Linked DNA regions of Homo sapiens: all the other regions are linked to region 5. The links are contacts of gene promoters, found by promoter capture Hi-C in blood cells and fetal thymus (Javierre and others, 2016). All regions are on one chromosome and are shown on one strand. The core of a region is centred on a gene start or on the middle of the fragment in contact, and the rest is flanking DNA. Distances in the headings are between cores, read along the strand shown. Region 1 overlaps REPIN1-AS1 (REPIN1 antisense RNA 1). Region 2 has its middle 4.1 kb from the start of LINC00996. Region 3 overlaps LOC728743 (zinc finger domain-containing protein LOC728743). Region 4 overlaps LOC107986858 (a long non-coding RNA gene). Region 5 holds the start of GIMAP1 (GTPase, IMAP family member 1).

Region 1 (2,865 bases), core at 132-2,631, 350 kb before region 5:
TTTGTTGGATGTATGAGCAAGTCCTGTGGGGGGAGCTGGAACTGTATGTCTGCAAGAAGTGGGTGCAGTTTTCCCTCTTCCAGATACAGGGCCACTTCTGAACAATACTTGGGTGTCTTCACAGAGGATTTCTGGAGACACTGTTCCTGTCACCCCCTGGCATGCCAGCCCACTTTGCATCTAATCTGATAATGGGAGCCAGGCACTGTTGGAGGGGAAAATTGATCCTCCCAGGGGCCCTATCAATATTCGCTGTCCAGTGGGCCCCTTCCTGTCCAGCCCTTTCTCCGGCTAGCTTGTCAAAAGCTGAGACCGTCTCCACTGGGCTAGGCCATTGGGCCATTTGGCTGGTTGCTGGGCCATCCTCCAAGACATTTTGAAGGGTGAAGTCTCAAATACCAAGGCCTTAAGCTTCCAGCTGGCATAAAGGCTCAGGAATCCCTTCGCAACTCCTTTGCCACTCATTTTCTTTCTGCAGAGTGAAGGCACAGTCATACTTAGTTTCCTCTGGCGATGCTAAAGAGGAAGTTACAGCAGGTGGTTAACTCCTGACTGGGAGAAGAGACATTTCCTCTAATGGAGGCTGGGGAGAGAGAAAGAAGGTTAGGGCCTTGTTTAATGAAGAACCTTTCTGCTATGAAAGACGGATTACAGACAAGGAGAAGATACTTTGTGAGTCTATGAAGGAATTCTGCTTCGCAGGCTCTTGCAGGAACGTAGGGATCAAGTGGAATTTTAGGAATGGAGAAGCATTAGATGTCCAAACTCACTCGTTAACCCTGGGGGATCCCACGCTTACCCTGTGCCCAGGCCAGCACACATGCAACTTTAGTGGTTAACATTGAGGACACAGGGGCACTGCTTGGGTTCAAATCAGCCACTATCCCGCTGAGTGGCCTTGAGTAAGTTCCTGAACATTTCAGAGTCTCGGTTGTTACATTTGTAAAATAAGGACCAGAAGAGTATTGCATAGGGTTGTTGAGTGGATTAAATGAGATATGTATGTGAGGAGTTTATCACCATGCCTGACACAAAGTAAAGCCTCCCAAAATGTTAACTAATAAATTACTAAGTATTTAGGTAAAAACTGGAGCATCTTCTTATTGTACTGTTGGTAGAAAAATTCATTCTTCCGTAACTACTAAACTTGGCCTATATTCCACAATATGCTATAACCATATTTTCAGAACCCCCAAACTATATGATATGACAAAGACTTTTTTCATATTTGTGAATTTTATTTTATAAAGTATAAAAGTTGGGCTGGGTGCGGTAGCTCACACCTGTAATCCCAGCACTTTGGGAGGCCAAGGTGGGCCGATCACCTGAGGTCAGGAGTTCAGGAGTTCAAGACTAGCCTGGCTAACATGGCAAAACCCCATCTCTACTAAAAATACAAAAATTAGCCAGGTGTAGTGGTGCGTGCCTGTAATCCCAGCTACTAGGGAGGCTGAGGCAGGAGAATCACTTGAACCTGGGAGGCGGAGGTTGCACTGAGCTGATATTGCACCATTGCACTCCAACCTGGGTGACAGAGCTAGACACTGTCTCAAAAAAAAAAAAAAAGTATAAAAGTTAAGTAGTTAATGTACAGATTAGTCAACTTGACTGGGACAGGTAAAATAAGACCTGAATGAATGGAGTGGAGAGAATGAATCTTAAAGACAATCACGTTTTTAAAACATTGACAAGAAATTCTAAAGTTCATTTTGTTACAAAACTGAACTGGGGTCTACTTGCCCGGCGCAGTAAGAGGAAACACCAACACTGAGGTTGTGCATCCGGAGAAAGGAGCACATTTATTTGCAGGGCACCAAGCGAGGAGAAGTGGGTCATACTTAAGATACAACCTCTTCGATGGTTTACAAGCAAGGTTTTTTTTTTCCCCCAGTCGGAGTCTAGCTCTGCCGCCCAGACTTGAGTACAGTGGCATGATCTTGGCTCACTGCAACCTCCGCCTCCTGGGTTCAAGTGATTCTCCTGCCTCAGCCTCCCGAGTAGCTGGGATTACAGGCTCCTGCCACCACGTCCAGCTAATTTTTGTATTTTTAGTAGAGACGAGGTTTCACTGTGTTGGCCAGGCTGGTCTTGAACTCCTGACTTTGTGATCCGCCCACCTCGGCCTCCCAAAGTGCTGGGATTACAAGCATGAGCCACTGGGCCCGGCCACAAGCAAGTGTTTTTAAAAGCAGGGGTAAATTTCAGGAAAGGAGAAGTTATGGGCAAAATCGTGAATTGATACATGGAGGTTATGCACTGGTTTAGCCTCAAAGGGCAGGGTATTTTGAAGGAGGAGCCTTAAAGGTCATACATGAATTCAAAGACTCTGATTTGTGATAAGTTAAGGAAGCAAAGCTTTGCCTAAAACCTTGGGGTTAGCAGAAAGGAATGTTCAGGTCTGGTCCAACTTCCATCAGGATCCTCAGGAAGAAATTTAGAACAAAGAACAGCAGAGCTTAGTCCTCAGTTCCCTCTTGTCTGAGGTCTGCAGGCCAGGGCATCCACTTGGGAGGGGGGCCCAGGTTTCTGAAGAGCAACTCAGGGACATATATTAAGATGTTATCTTTAGTTTCTATAGGGAACCAAACATTTTGTGACTGTAACTTCCTTGTTTTAAGCTACAGTTACCTTCTTGTTTATTAGGTTGCTAGCTGGGTGCCTGGAATTTCCCTTGAAGGAATTCAAGATTTTCCTTTATTTCCATGCTTGCCCCCTCCCCACTTCCTGCAGGCCTGTAAGAGGGGTGCCGGCTCCATGTCAGTTTGGAAGAATAAATGAAGTGATTCTAGCCAAGAAGTTATGAAGAATAAAAAAACCCAGAATCTTTGTGTAGGGGAAGTACTTAAACTACCAGCTACCAAAACT
Region 2 (2,842 bases), core at 150-2,649, 290 kb before region 5:
GGCTCCCACGTCACGTGAGGGTGCTGAGGGCCTCAAACGCCTTTCACCAGAGGCCTGACTAGTGCGGCAGGTCAGGAAACAAGAAGAGACTTTAGAAGAGGGAGGCCTTGCCTTGTGTTCCTCAGAACCGGGACACTTGGTCCTCACCGGGGTGAGGCTGGGCAGAGTGCACCCTCCAGCCGCCTGTACCTCCACAGCCCTGCAGGCCGAGAGATGCAAGATAAACTGTGGATGGCACCCACTTTGGAGTCAGGAGGCCTGAGACTCTCCCCCAGCTGGTTCCTTCACGACCTTGGGGAAGTCACTTCCTTTCTGGGGGCTACAGTTTCTTCACTGAAGAATGAGGAGGTTAGATGGGAAGTCACTACTTCCAAAGATTTGTTTTTTTTTTAATGAAAGTAAAATCTTATTTTTTCAAAATATCACTAGGAAGACCCATGGATCACCCCAGGAGTGTTCCAGCTACAGCATGGGATGGGTCTCCCTCTCCCCAGCAACCTTGTCTGCTGGGCCCACCCCTTAGGTGTCCGGGGGCCCCCACTAGAACCTGCAGAAAACATTTGGAACCCACTGGACTTGCTTGCAGGTCCCGTAGAGTCCCACCCTCTAGGATTCTCTAAGGAATTCACAGGTACCCCCTCCGACCCCCAACCACACTCTCCACAGACACATGCACAGAAACGTAAGCACTGCCCACAGCTGTGTGCACACACAGGGACTTTCAGAGGCATGATTCAGAAGCCACACTGGGCAAAGTGCCCTCCTGCTGTTTGTGTTCACTCACGCAGCCCTTGGCCGCCTTCTTCCTGTCTTCTTTATTTGCTGCTGTCACTCCCACCTCCTGTGGAGTAGACCAGATGGCCGCATCTGCCCAAGGAAGTGTCTACAGAGGAAATGGCAAAGTGCATTCCAGCCAAGGTAGAAATCACTGGCAGGCAAGCTCTCAGGGCCAAGGCACTGGGGCTTTGGAGTCCTGGCCTGGGTCCCTACCCAAACCCTTGTCCCCTCAGATACATCCCTAGACCCCTTCCTGAGCAACCTGGAAAGAACCCGCAGACCCATTTTCTGCACATTCCTCAGCCCCACAGGGAGAGGAAAATGCTCCACCTCCTCCAGTTGCTGCCCAGGCTGCCGGCTACGAGGGGCTGTGGCTTCCACATTCCCTTCTCCAGTGCAGCCAGGCTTGACCTTTCAGAAAATCCTTGACGATGGGAAGGACTCCCAAGGATGGCATAGAATAGCCAGGCCCAGCCCCTGGACCTGCATAAAGCAATTGTTTGGAGGCAGAGAGTCGGATGCCTGGTGAATGGGGGGCTGGTACTCAATATAGTCAGAGAAGGCAGTGTCCTTACTCAGCTGCTCTCAGAGCGAAGGCACTTGCCCTCTGCAGGCTGCCCCAGAAGCCAAAGGAAAGCAACTGGAAGCTAAAGGGAAGGTTTGGGGACTTTAATAGCTGATATAGTTTGGATATTTGTCCCTGCCCAAATCTCATGTTGAATGAAATGTAATCTGCAGTGTTAGAAGTGCCTGGTGGGAGGTGTTTGGGCCATGGGGGCAGATCTCTCATGAATGGCTTGGGCCATCCTCCTGGTGATGAGTGAGCTCTTGCTCTGAGTTCACATGAGATCTGGTCATTTAAAAGTGTGTGGCACCTTCTACCTCACCAACCCCCCACCTCTCCCTCTTTCTCTCTCTGTCTCATGCTGAAGGAGACATGGAACAGTGAGATTCTCCCTTGGAGCCTCCAGAAGGAACCTGCCCTGTGGACACCTTGATTTTAGCCCTGTAGGTTCATTTCAGACTCTGGACTTCCAGAACGCTAAGAGAGTAAGTCTGTGTTGTTCAAGCCACTTTTTGTGGTGGTTTATTATGCAGCAATGGAGAACAAATACACCCGGCATGTCCTGGGACAAAGCCTGGGGACGGCGGGGGGACTGAGCTGGACGCCCATACCCCAAAGCACGAAGGGAAGAGACCAGCAGCTAACACTCGAAGAGGCCGACTAGTTCTCAAAAGGGAGAAGAGGTATGGCCTGAAAGCCAAGGAGCAAGGGAGATGCTAACTCTAACCGCATTATTTTTTTGGAGACAGGGTCTCCCTTGGTCACCCAGGCTGGAGTGCAGTGGTGCAATCATGGCTCACTGCAGCCTCGACCTCCTGGGCTCAAGCGATCCTCCTGCTTCAGCCTCCAGAGCAGCTGGGACCACAGGTGTGCACCACCACGCCCTGCCCCCTAACCCCATTTTCTGTCCCTGGGGTACATGGGGTGTGAGATAATAAACAGTCCCCACTGGAGAGAGATTATTTAATCCTCATCCTACTCCACAAGACCATTATCGTTACGATCTTCCTTCTATAGATCAGGAACCTGAAGTACTTGGGGGTGGAGGTCACTTGCTCAAGTTCAGGCAGTTAGGAAGGGCAAAGCAGAGGTTTGAACCGTGCCTGCACCTGTGAAGTTTGGAAACCATCATCGCATTCCCCCAGGGGAATAGTCTAGGATCTGAGTTCCAGCTTCTCCATCTGAGGCAGCGGTCCCCAGGCGCTGGCAGCAACGTGCAGCTGCTGGGGTACGAGGCAGCTGCCTGCAGAGACCGTGCCTTCCCCTTGGTGCAGATGCAGTGGGCAGCCTGCACTTTGCTGCTCCTGTGTCCGACTCCTTGGGGTTCTGTTCTGGAGACAGAGCTCAGTGGACTCACAAGACGGTCACTTTCTTCTGTTGAGTCCCTGAGTTTATTTGATGAAATCCAGAACTGAAGTTCCTGGAATAAGTCATCTTACCACCAGTGTTTTGAATTAACGAACTCAAATGTCATCTCCTCCCACACAAACATTTCTCTTT
Region 3 (2,971 bases), core at 82-2,581, 310 kb before region 5:
TAATGTTTAACCGAGGTCACTTTCAAGTTTACAGGGTTGTGTTTTTTTTCCTGTTTTAAGCTTCACAAAAATATCTTTAAATCACTGATAATGCCACCCTTTTCTCCAAGTTTGGGGTGCACTTCCCTACCTCCCCCTGTCCTTGAGATCTGGTTGGAGGGATAAGACATATCTAGACGAAGGTAACTGAAAATCCTAGCTGAAACTGAAACTGAAAATCCTAACTGAAACTCATCACCATCTGTCTAGTGTCTTGTGTGGCTGGCTGGCATGGTGCTAGGTGCTGGGGTTGAAAGAAGGCAGCTCTGTCCTTAGGGTGCTGGGAGTCGGGGGACAGAGGTGGCATGACTGACCCTCGTGCAGTATGATCAGTGAGAGCCACATGGTTGTGTCACACGGTGTTTAAGCCCGGGGTGGAAAGGTCAGGGAAGGCTTCTAGGAGAAGGTGCCCTTGGGAAGGGACTGGAAGGAGTGTAGGCCGTGCTTAAAAGGCAGTGGAGGAAGAGGAACACCAATTCCCAGCAGGGGAACTTGAGCTTGAACAAAACGGGGCGAAAGGTGGAGGTTGTGGGAGGTGAGTGTCCCTGCCAGGCTGGGGGTTGGCTAACCCTCGTGTTCCCCGACCCCTCTCTCTCCACCCCCCACCCCCGCCCCCGCTTCTGTCTCCCTAGGGACTGGTGATTGCAGCTGGAAGTGCCCATGACCGAGCTGGCGTCCTCCGGGGGCGGGTCCCCTGCGGGGGACGGGGAGGAGGGTCTGGGGGACGAGCGAGGCCTGGTCATCCACCACCCTGCAGAGGAGCAGCCCTACCGCTGCCCGCTGTGCGGCCAGACCTTCTCGCAGCAGCCCAGCCTGGTGCGGCACCAGAAGGCGCACGCCGGAGCGGGCCGCGCGGCTGCCTTCGTGTGTCCCGAGTGCGGCAAGGCCTTCAGCGTCAAGCACAACCTCGAGGTGCACCAGCGCACGCACACCGGGGAGCGGCCCTTCCCCTGCCCCGAGTGCGGCCGCTGCTTCAGCCTCAAGCAGAACCTGCTCACGCACCAGCGCATCCACAGCGGCGAGAAGCCGCACCAGTGCGCGCAGTGCGGCCGCTGCTTCCGCGAGCCGCGCTTCCTGCTCAACCACCAGCGCACCCACGCGCGCATGCCCGCGCCGCACCCGCGCCGCCCCGGCGTCTTCGGGGAGCGGCGGCCCTACTTCTGCCCCCGCTGCGGCAAGAGCTTCGCGCGCGAGGGCTCGCTCAAGACCCATCAGCGCAGCCACGGCCACGGGCCCGAGGGCCAGGCGGCCCACTTAGGACGCGTGCTATGATGCGCCCGGGGCCTGCTGCCGACGGCTGCTTCCCGCCCCGCACGTGCGTCCCCGACCCCTGGAGATGGCCCTGGGCCGCAGCTCCCTCTCTAGATGGGATCCCGGGAGAGGGGCAGCGCTGGCTTGGGCTCTTGAAGGTGTGGGCCGCCGCCAGGCTCCGGCCGCCCGCTCGCGTTCCTCCCTCGGGACCCTCTGGCTGGCTGCGCACAGCTGCTTCCGGCTCCTGCCATGGTTCTCCTTCTCTGGCCCATCCGGCCTAGAGCAGGTGAGACCTGCGGGGCTGGCCAGAGCCCCTCTCAGGGCTGGGAGTGGTGGGGGTGGAGTGCGTGGTGTTGATTCTTGATGGCAGGTGGGGCGGTCTGGGTACCGGGCTGTAGGTTTCTCTGTGATGAGCTGCTTACCGGATCTTCATCCCCAGAATGTCAGAGTTGAAAGAGACTTGGAGAGGCCACTTTCCACAAACCCCACGCCCAACCTCAGCCCCTAGGCCTCCTGGCTCCTGTACACACTCTCTGCTGTCCTTGAGATGTCATTTCACTTCATGTTTCAGTTTACTCATCTGTAAGTTGGGGATATAGATGAGGGACTCTTCCTCGCTGGGATATATTGCAGCTACTGGATGAGAGAGGGTGAGGTCACTGGTGCACAGAGCCTTAGTTGATTCTGCCACACCATGTGCCACTGACTGTGCCGGGCTGGGCTCTCCCAGAGACACACATGAGGACCGCAGGCCCTGACACGGGGTGCTCACACTCGGTGTGTGACGCGGGGCCAACCTACAAAGTGCTCTGGGGTGAGACCGAGGAGGGTGACTGGTTTCTCTTCGTCACCCAGGGGAGTTTGATGGCTTTGAACCAGGTCATGGGGACAAATAAAATTGTTCTAGGAAGAGCAAGTGTGTAGAAGGGTGTTTTCAAGGGAGGGGGGGTCCTGATAGTTCAGTGACTGTCTCCAGGTGTCCCAAGGGGAGGTTTGCCCTACAAAGGACTTCGTGGTCAGGGGGTGGGGACACTGAGATTTTTAATGAGATGAGTGCTATGATCTCAGACTTATGCTTTAGGAGGAGAATCAGAGGCACTGTGAGGACAGACTGATGTGGGAAGAGCTGGAGCCTCGAGGGGCTTGGGTCATCTGGGCAAGAGAACATAAGGCCCCCAGCTAAGAGGCCTGGCCAAGGTCTGGCAGTGAGAAAGGGGGCAGCCAGGACTCTGCTCCAGGACCTCTGGTTCCAAGCTGGCGCTCTGAGGCACGGGCCTCTTCAGCCTTTTGGCAGATGAGGAAACAGGTTTGCCAAGCTTGCCTACACCACAGTTGGTACTTAGGGGTACAACAGGTGGAAGCCAGGGCTTTGTTTTGGATTCTGAATCCCAGAACCTTTTAGCTTCACTGCTTAAAAAGTGGACGATGGAGCAGGGAGGATTTGGGGCCATGTGATAGGAGCTGGGGCAGGGGTGTTAGGGGTGGTACGGGTGTTTGAAGGGGACATGGCATCCCTGGGAGTGGTTTGGGAGGAAGGGAGCTGGGGCTTCGAGGGGACCTGCACATTCAGTCCTGTGCTGGGTGCTGGAGACTCGTCCCTCCCCACTGCCCCCTCTGCCCATCCTCAGTGCTATGTGGCTATGGCTCCTCGGAGACTGTCCTCTGCCTACCACTCCCAGGT
Region 4 (3,092 bases), core at 582-3,081, 370 kb before region 5:
GTTCTCTCTCATGTATGTTAATAAATATTTCCTGTTAAAGCCGAGGCAGGAGGATTGCTTGAGCCCAGGAGTTCAAAGGTGCAGTGAGCTCTGATCATGAAACTGTACTTCAGCCTCTCTGGACAGAGCAAGACCTTGTCTCTAAAATATAAATGAATCAATTTATTCTATTAATCTGCCTTTCATCAGTTGATTTTTCAGCAAACCTTCAGAAGGCAAAGGGGAAGTTTTCCTTTGGCCCCCACAGACCCATGCTGGGGGACGTCCTGAGGATGGGTGAGGAGAGAAATCTTCCAGGACAAGGTAGGACTTGAGCTGAGCAAAGCGGGAAACTCATCCTGACTTTGGTGGGGGCTGGGGGGAAAGTTGCATCAGGTCTGTTGCAGGGGAGGTGAGGCAGTTGAGGTGGGGAGGTAGGTTGGGAGCAGGGTGGTGGGAGTTGGTGAGGAAGGAGCCAGTCTGGCTATACTTAAATGGCCACACAAAATTCACTTTGGGTGTAGGTATGTGAGGTGCACCCCAAAGAGGTGGACAGTCCTACTGCAGAGCACTCATAGGTGTGGATGTGTGAAAGGACTACTTAGGGCATATTCATGAGCTCAGCTCCAGGTAACATGTCCCAGTCCAGGGGAGCAACAACAGGACTTCACTATTTAATGATGGTTAATGATCTTCCTGGTCATGACAGCTAAAAAAGTAGACTCACGTATCCAGTTGTTCCAAGCTTAGTTTTCCAATAACTGAACTGAGTACCAAAAAACATTGTCCTTTAATATTTGCAACCACATTGACAAAAATAGTTTTTTTTAGAAGAAGTGATTTGACTTTGAAGTAAGAGCATATCAGTTGCAAAACTACACCTATTGAAGTTAAGTACATTTTCCAACTTGTGTCAATTCGGTACCATTAGCATAAATTCAAAAATGATATTGCATAAATTCAAAAGCCATTCTAAATTTATCAATATCAACTAAGAATTCTTCACATTTTTCTTGAAATTTTGCCAATTTACACAATGCTGTATATTACAATTAAAACCTCTGTATGTTGATTCTTGTGACAAAAGTATGTAGATTGTAATTATTTGTCAGTATTATGAAAATATTTAATTTGAAATGCTTATATTTATCTGGCTAGGTCACAAATGAGGTTTCATCTCCTTGGATATTCAAATTTAGCCCATTTATATGTAGTGTGGTATTGGTGAGAAAACACTGACTTTTTTATTTTTAATTATTGAATATTTGGGTTGAGAGTAGTGACTCATGCCTGTAATCCTAGCACTTTGGGAGTCCAAGGTGGGTGGATCACTGAACCCAGGAGTTCAAGACCAGCCTGGGCAATATAGAGAGAGGCTATCTTTACAAAAAAAAAAAAGTTTAATTAGCTGAGTGTGGTGGCAAAAGTCTGTAGTCCTGGCTACTCAGGAGGCTGGCGGGGGACGATCACTTGAGCCTGGGAAGTCAAGGTTGCAGTGAGCTATGATCATGCCACTACATGACCCTCCCACCTCAGCCTCCCAAAGTGTTGGGATTATAGGCTCAAGCCACCACTCTCAGACTTGGCCACAGAGCAAAACCTTGTCCCCAAAACAAATAATAATAATACTTATTGTTGTATATTTGGTAATCATGGCTTCTGTCTCAAGAAAATCTTGGAGTTAGTTAAAAGTACAGTAAATCTTAGGAGAACTCTTCTACAACCCTGACAATGAGCTTTGGTAAAGAAAAGATCATTAAATTCATTATCTTTCATTGCTTTCAACAGTTCCATAAAACCAGCAGTGATTCATAGCATTTCCACTTAAATACGGAATTAGTTTTAATGGCTGTAGCCATGAGACTTGCATAGAATAAATTTCAGAAAACTGAGCACAAATATCTTCAATATGTACCCTAAAGTGAAATGAAGCAACATTGGAAGCATCAATCTCTTGTTTTAGCATTCCAATAAATACCTCAGTCACACCAGCCACATGGCAAGTGTTCCTAAACCTGTGGCTGGTGGCTACCATATTGGATATTGCAGGCAGAGCATGTGTTACCAATTATGTGAGTAAAAACTAAAACTAAAAATGAACAAATTTTTGTGTTTGTAAATGCATGGAATATTTCTAGAAGGGAAAAACAAGAAACTTATAACAGTGTTTGCCTGTGAGGAGAGGATCTGTCCAGCTGGGGAAAACAGAGGCAGGAAAACTGTACTCCCTTTGTACTTTTAAATTTTTATAACTTGTGGATAATTTGTCTATTAAAATATAAAAAAACTTTAAAAACTATTTTTTGAGACAGGGTCTTGCTCTGTCGTTCAAGCTGGAGAGCAGTGGCTCAATCATGGCTCACTGCAGCCTCAACCTCCTGTGCTCAAGCGATCCTCCCACCTCAGCCTCCCAAGTAGCTTGGACCACAGGTGCATGCCATCATCCTAGGCTAATTTTTGTATTTTTTTCTAGAGACAGGATTTTGTCACATTGCCCAGGCTGATCTCAAACTTCTAGGTTCAGCAATCCACCCACCTTGGACTCTCAAAGTGCTGAAATTACAGGCTTGAGCCACTGTGCTTGGCCTTAATACTTTTAAAATCAGAAAGCAAAGCAACAGCTTTTCTTTTGTCTTCTTTTCTTTTCTCTTTTTTTGAGACAAAGTCTTATTCTGTTGCCCAGGCTGGAGTGCAATGGCATAATCAGAGCTCACTGCAGCCTCCATGTTCTAGGCTCTATTGATCTTCCTGCCTCAGCCTCCCAGTAGCTAGAACTACAGGACCACCTCACCCAGCTAGTTTTTATTATTATTATTTTTTTTTTCAGGAGAGAGGAGGTTTTGTTTTGTTGCCCAGGCTGGTCTTGAACTTCTGAGCTCAAGTGATCCTCCTACCTTACCTTTCCAAACTGCTGAGATTACAGGTGTGAGCCACCGCGCCTGGTCCCAATAGCATTTCTGAAAGCTTACTCTGGCTGCTGTGTGGAGAGTGGATAAAAGGGAATAAATCTCAGCAGGAGATAATTGTGATTGTCCGGGTGAGAGACGAATGTGGCAGGGACAAAACTGGAGGCAGTGAAGATGGGAAAACAAAGTCCAGAAATACCTCAGGAC
Region 5 (2,914 bases), core at 97-2,596:
GCATTACCTACATATACTTTTGTAGTCAGATAAACCCTCTGACAGAGAGTTATGAGTGGCTGAAGTAAGACATCATACACATGCATGGAAACAATAAATGGCCCGGAGCTGTTGAAGAGGCTCTGAAAGCGTCTTTATGAAAGGTACACGTCAAGTATCAAAGACTTATTCAAAGCTGATCTATGTGGCTTGGGCTAGGATGAGGCTAGTGAGAAGCCCTAGGCACCTCACTCTTAAGAAAACACTCACTCCCAGGGTCACCCACCTACAAGATCTGCACTTGGGTGACCTGAGAGTGAGTGCCTCCTTAAGCTGTGTGCTCTAGATGCCCCACCTGCCTCACAATAGCCCCAGCCCTGCCGGTCTACTGGGAGAATGACAGGCTCCCTGTTTCAGCAATGATGAATGGAAACAGTGGACATGTCAGATATCCAGGAGACTCTGTGCCCCCAAAAAGATGGGAAACAGTAAAAGCTGGGTCTCTTCCCTACCAGAAAAAAAGTGGTCTGGCATGAAAGAGGTTAAAAAGCAGATCCTATCCAGTAGGGTAAGACTCGGGTTATTGTCTTCCCCATATACTCCAGAAAGCCAACTCCAGAAAGTTTAAATGAGTTAGGTGAGGTCCTATAGCTGGTTAATGACCTAACCAGATATGCAGCCTGCTCCTCTGTAGCCTTCTTACCACCCAGTGATTCGCTTTTTTGCTGACCTCATGATGCTCTTGAGAGAAGATAGAATAACTAGAACTGGTGATACCAACATAGACGACTAGACTAAAGCCTCCTAATAAGGCTAAATTGAAGATAGTGCGAAGGTGTTCATCCTCAACATACCAGTTCACCCTCAAGTCCTTCAATAGCTGGGAAAGCCCTCCTCTCTCAGAGAATGATAAGACTTTGCCTTCAGGTTTTTCTGGCAGACTGGATCTGGGGCTGGCACTGGCCACATGAATGTCTAATTAATGGACAGATGATGAGAACAGCTATTACGTTATTTGTTCCGGGGCAGGAGACTCTCTGGGCCTATTTTATATGGGGAAATGTCCCTATAGGGCAAAGGCAACTGAAGATTAGCTCAGTAATCAATTTTAGAAGTACAGTCAGGCCTCAGAGACTACAACATCCCTCCCTTCTTAGAGCATGGCAAGATATTTGACATCATGAGGCCCTGCTGGAGACACATAACCTCAGTCACAGCAGAAAGTAGAGTCGGTAGGAGAAGTATTGCCAACCCACAGCTCAATGGGAAATGTTTCTGTCTCTTTAAACCATAACCATGGGGCCCACCCTGAGCTTCCTGATTTCTGAAGTCTGAGTGATTTCCTCCGTGTGCCGAGAGGAAACAGCCTTCTGCACTCACAGCCGAAGGGAAAGCAGCAGGTTGGGGCTTCTTGTGGCCAACTTCAGAGCCTGTCACCAGGAAAGGTGAGCCTGAGCCTGGGAGTGGCGGGGGCTGGGGGTGCTCTGAGAACCAGAAAGAACATGATTCCTAGAGTGTTTACTGCCTGAACACTTGCATTCTACAAGGCATCATGCAGGCGAGCAAGATCTGGAACAATCAAGGACATACTTCCAGGTTTTTAAGTAGGCAAAGTTCAGAGGAAATTTTAGGATCATCTTCTCCAGCTCTGGAGCACACACGTTCTTGGTGGGGAGTGAAATCTGTCTCCTCCCACATTCCCTTAACAAAGTAAGAAAAGAGTGTGCTGGAACCACCTCCAGGAATAAAATACAGTTTGAAAGGCATTAAACATTCCTCAAGCTCCCTATTGAGCAAAGGCAAAAGATATTTCTATGGCCCCATAAGCCATCTAACCTCGGAGTGAGTTACGACGTGACAAGACTGGGTACATTTGAACTCTCCTCCTCACTGTCCACAGAAGGGGCCCCTGAGGAGACATCTGAGATTAATATCTTGGTCTTCAACCCCTTTCCCTGCATGGCCCCTTAAACATCTGCTCCCTTAATTCAAGCTTCTCCTGCTCCAGCCACGGGGACACCTCAAATTCCCATCTGTACAATAAAGGGGGTTGCAAAAATGACTGATGTCCAAGTTCTGAGCTGTGGACATCAGAAACATTTAATTCATGAATCAGAATCTCAGGATGGATCCAAGAGATGTACATTTTTAAAGAACATTCAAGTAATTCTGAGAAGCAGCACATTTGAGCGGTGAAGAACTCAATAAACTTTGCGGTCTCTTAAAGTGTTAGGAATACAGGATTCTATAAGTGTACATTCCTCAATGATTAAGGGCCATTTGTCACCTCAGAGTTCAGCTGGGTCTTACTTTCCTTTAAAAAAAAAAACTATTTAAAATCATTTCAACCCCTCTTCTAAACTATGGAAAATTCCAAAGGCCTATCCAGAATTCTGCAGCACTGGAAAAAGAAATTCTCATTTTCTTGGTTGACAAGGACATTTTGCTTCATCTAAATTCTTTTCTCTGAATCTTGCAACTGTTTCTTCATTTCTGCTTTGATGTCATTTATGATCATCTGTTCATTCCTACATGCAAAATAATTAATCACATAAGGCCCATGGAGTGAATTTTATTGAAGGCTTTGGGGAGGGCCAGTAGAGTTCCTGCAGAAACAGAAACAGCTCTAGATTTAATATGAGGCAAATCTGTTCTCCAAGTCCTTCAATCAAAGACAAGTTACTCAGCCAGCCTCTCTCTCTGCCCCTCCTTCATGTGTGGTGCCAATGGGAGAGAACACAGGTATCCAAGTGACCAGGGTGCAAGACACAACAAGTTTGACATGGATGGTGAGGCACAGACAGATGGTCGGGGAGGATCAATAGTCCTAGGAGGGGAAGCCGAGTGGGTTGGAAAGGCCCTGAAATCTGCTGATTGTGAAGTAGCTGACCGAGTGGGGTATTGTCTGGGAATGAGGCTGGAGACATAGATGCAG

What was found. The method cuts DNA at HindIII sites, captures the fragments that hold promoters and counts their contacts. A CHiCAGO score of 5 or more calls a contact.
Region 1: a fragment that was not itself captured here is called in contact with the fragment with the promoter of GIMAP1 in region 5 in 9 of 17 cell types (non-activated CD4 T cells, activated CD4 T cells, naive CD8 T cells and 6 more); the score reaches 10.8 in non-activated CD4 T cells.
Region 2: a contact is called between a fragment that was not itself captured here and the fragment with the promoter of GIMAP1 in region 5, in 14 of 17 cell types (naive CD8 T cells, total CD8 T cells, neutrophils and 11 more). The highest score is 15.2, in naive CD8 T cells.
Region 3: a contact is called between a fragment that was not itself captured here and the fragment with the promoter of GIMAP1 in region 5, in 9 of 17 cell types (total CD8 T cells, non-activated CD4 T cells, total CD4 T cells and 6 more). The highest score is 11.6, in total CD8 T cells.
Region 4: a fragment that was not itself captured here is called in contact with the fragment with the promoter of GIMAP1 in region 5 in 2 of 17 cell types (naive CD8 T cells and naive CD4 T cells); the score reaches 6.4 in naive CD8 T cells.

The regions. Positions count from the first base shown.
Region 1 is chr7:150,363,595-150,366,459 of GRCh38, forward strand. REPIN1-AS1 (REPIN1 antisense RNA 1) reads right to left here. Exons shown (of 4, transcript NR_183429.1): 4 at 1-583. Among named protein-coding and RNA genes, the nearest start is that of REPIN1, 3.8 kb to the right of the region's middle. RefSeq lists a silencer at 537-586. The HindIII fragment of the contact is 1,944 bases long and covers 410-2,353 here.
Region 2 is chr7:150,428,098-150,430,939 of GRCh38, forward strand. No RefSeq gene overlaps it. Among named protein-coding and RNA genes, the nearest start is that of LINC00996, 4.1 kb to the right of the region's middle. RefSeq lists an enhancer at 729-898. The HindIII fragment of the contact is 4,508 bases long and covers 1-2,842 here.
Region 3 is chr7:150,406,913-150,409,883 of GRCh38, forward strand. LOC728743 (zinc finger domain-containing protein LOC728743) reads left to right here. Exons shown (of 3, transcript NM_001395976.1): 2 at 672-1,576. The coding sequence starts at 700. The coding sequence ends at 1,311. Among named protein-coding and RNA genes, the nearest start is that of ZNF775-AS1, 24 kb to the left of the region's middle. RefSeq lists an enhancer at 37-86. The HindIII fragment of the contact is 2,546 bases long and covers 59-2,604 here.
Region 4 is chr7:150,343,339-150,346,430 of GRCh38, forward strand. It overlaps LOC107986858 (a long non-coding RNA gene), which reads left to right. Exons shown (of 3, transcript XR_001745420.3): 2 at 190-303. Among named protein-coding and RNA genes, the nearest start is that of RARRES2, 3.3 kb to the left of the region's middle. The HindIII fragment of the contact is 2,219 bases long and covers 723-2,941 here.
Region 5 is chr7:150,715,267-150,718,180 of GRCh38, forward strand. It overlaps GIMAP1 (GTPase, IMAP family member 1), which reads left to right and starts at 1,347. Exons shown (of 3, transcript NM_130759.4): 1 at 1,347-1,424. GIMAP1-GIMAP5 (GIMAP1-GIMAP5 readthrough) reads left to right here and starts at 1,347. Exons shown (of 5, transcript NM_001303630.2): 1 at 1,347-1,424. The HindIII fragment of the contact is 9,233 bases long and covers 1-1,970 here.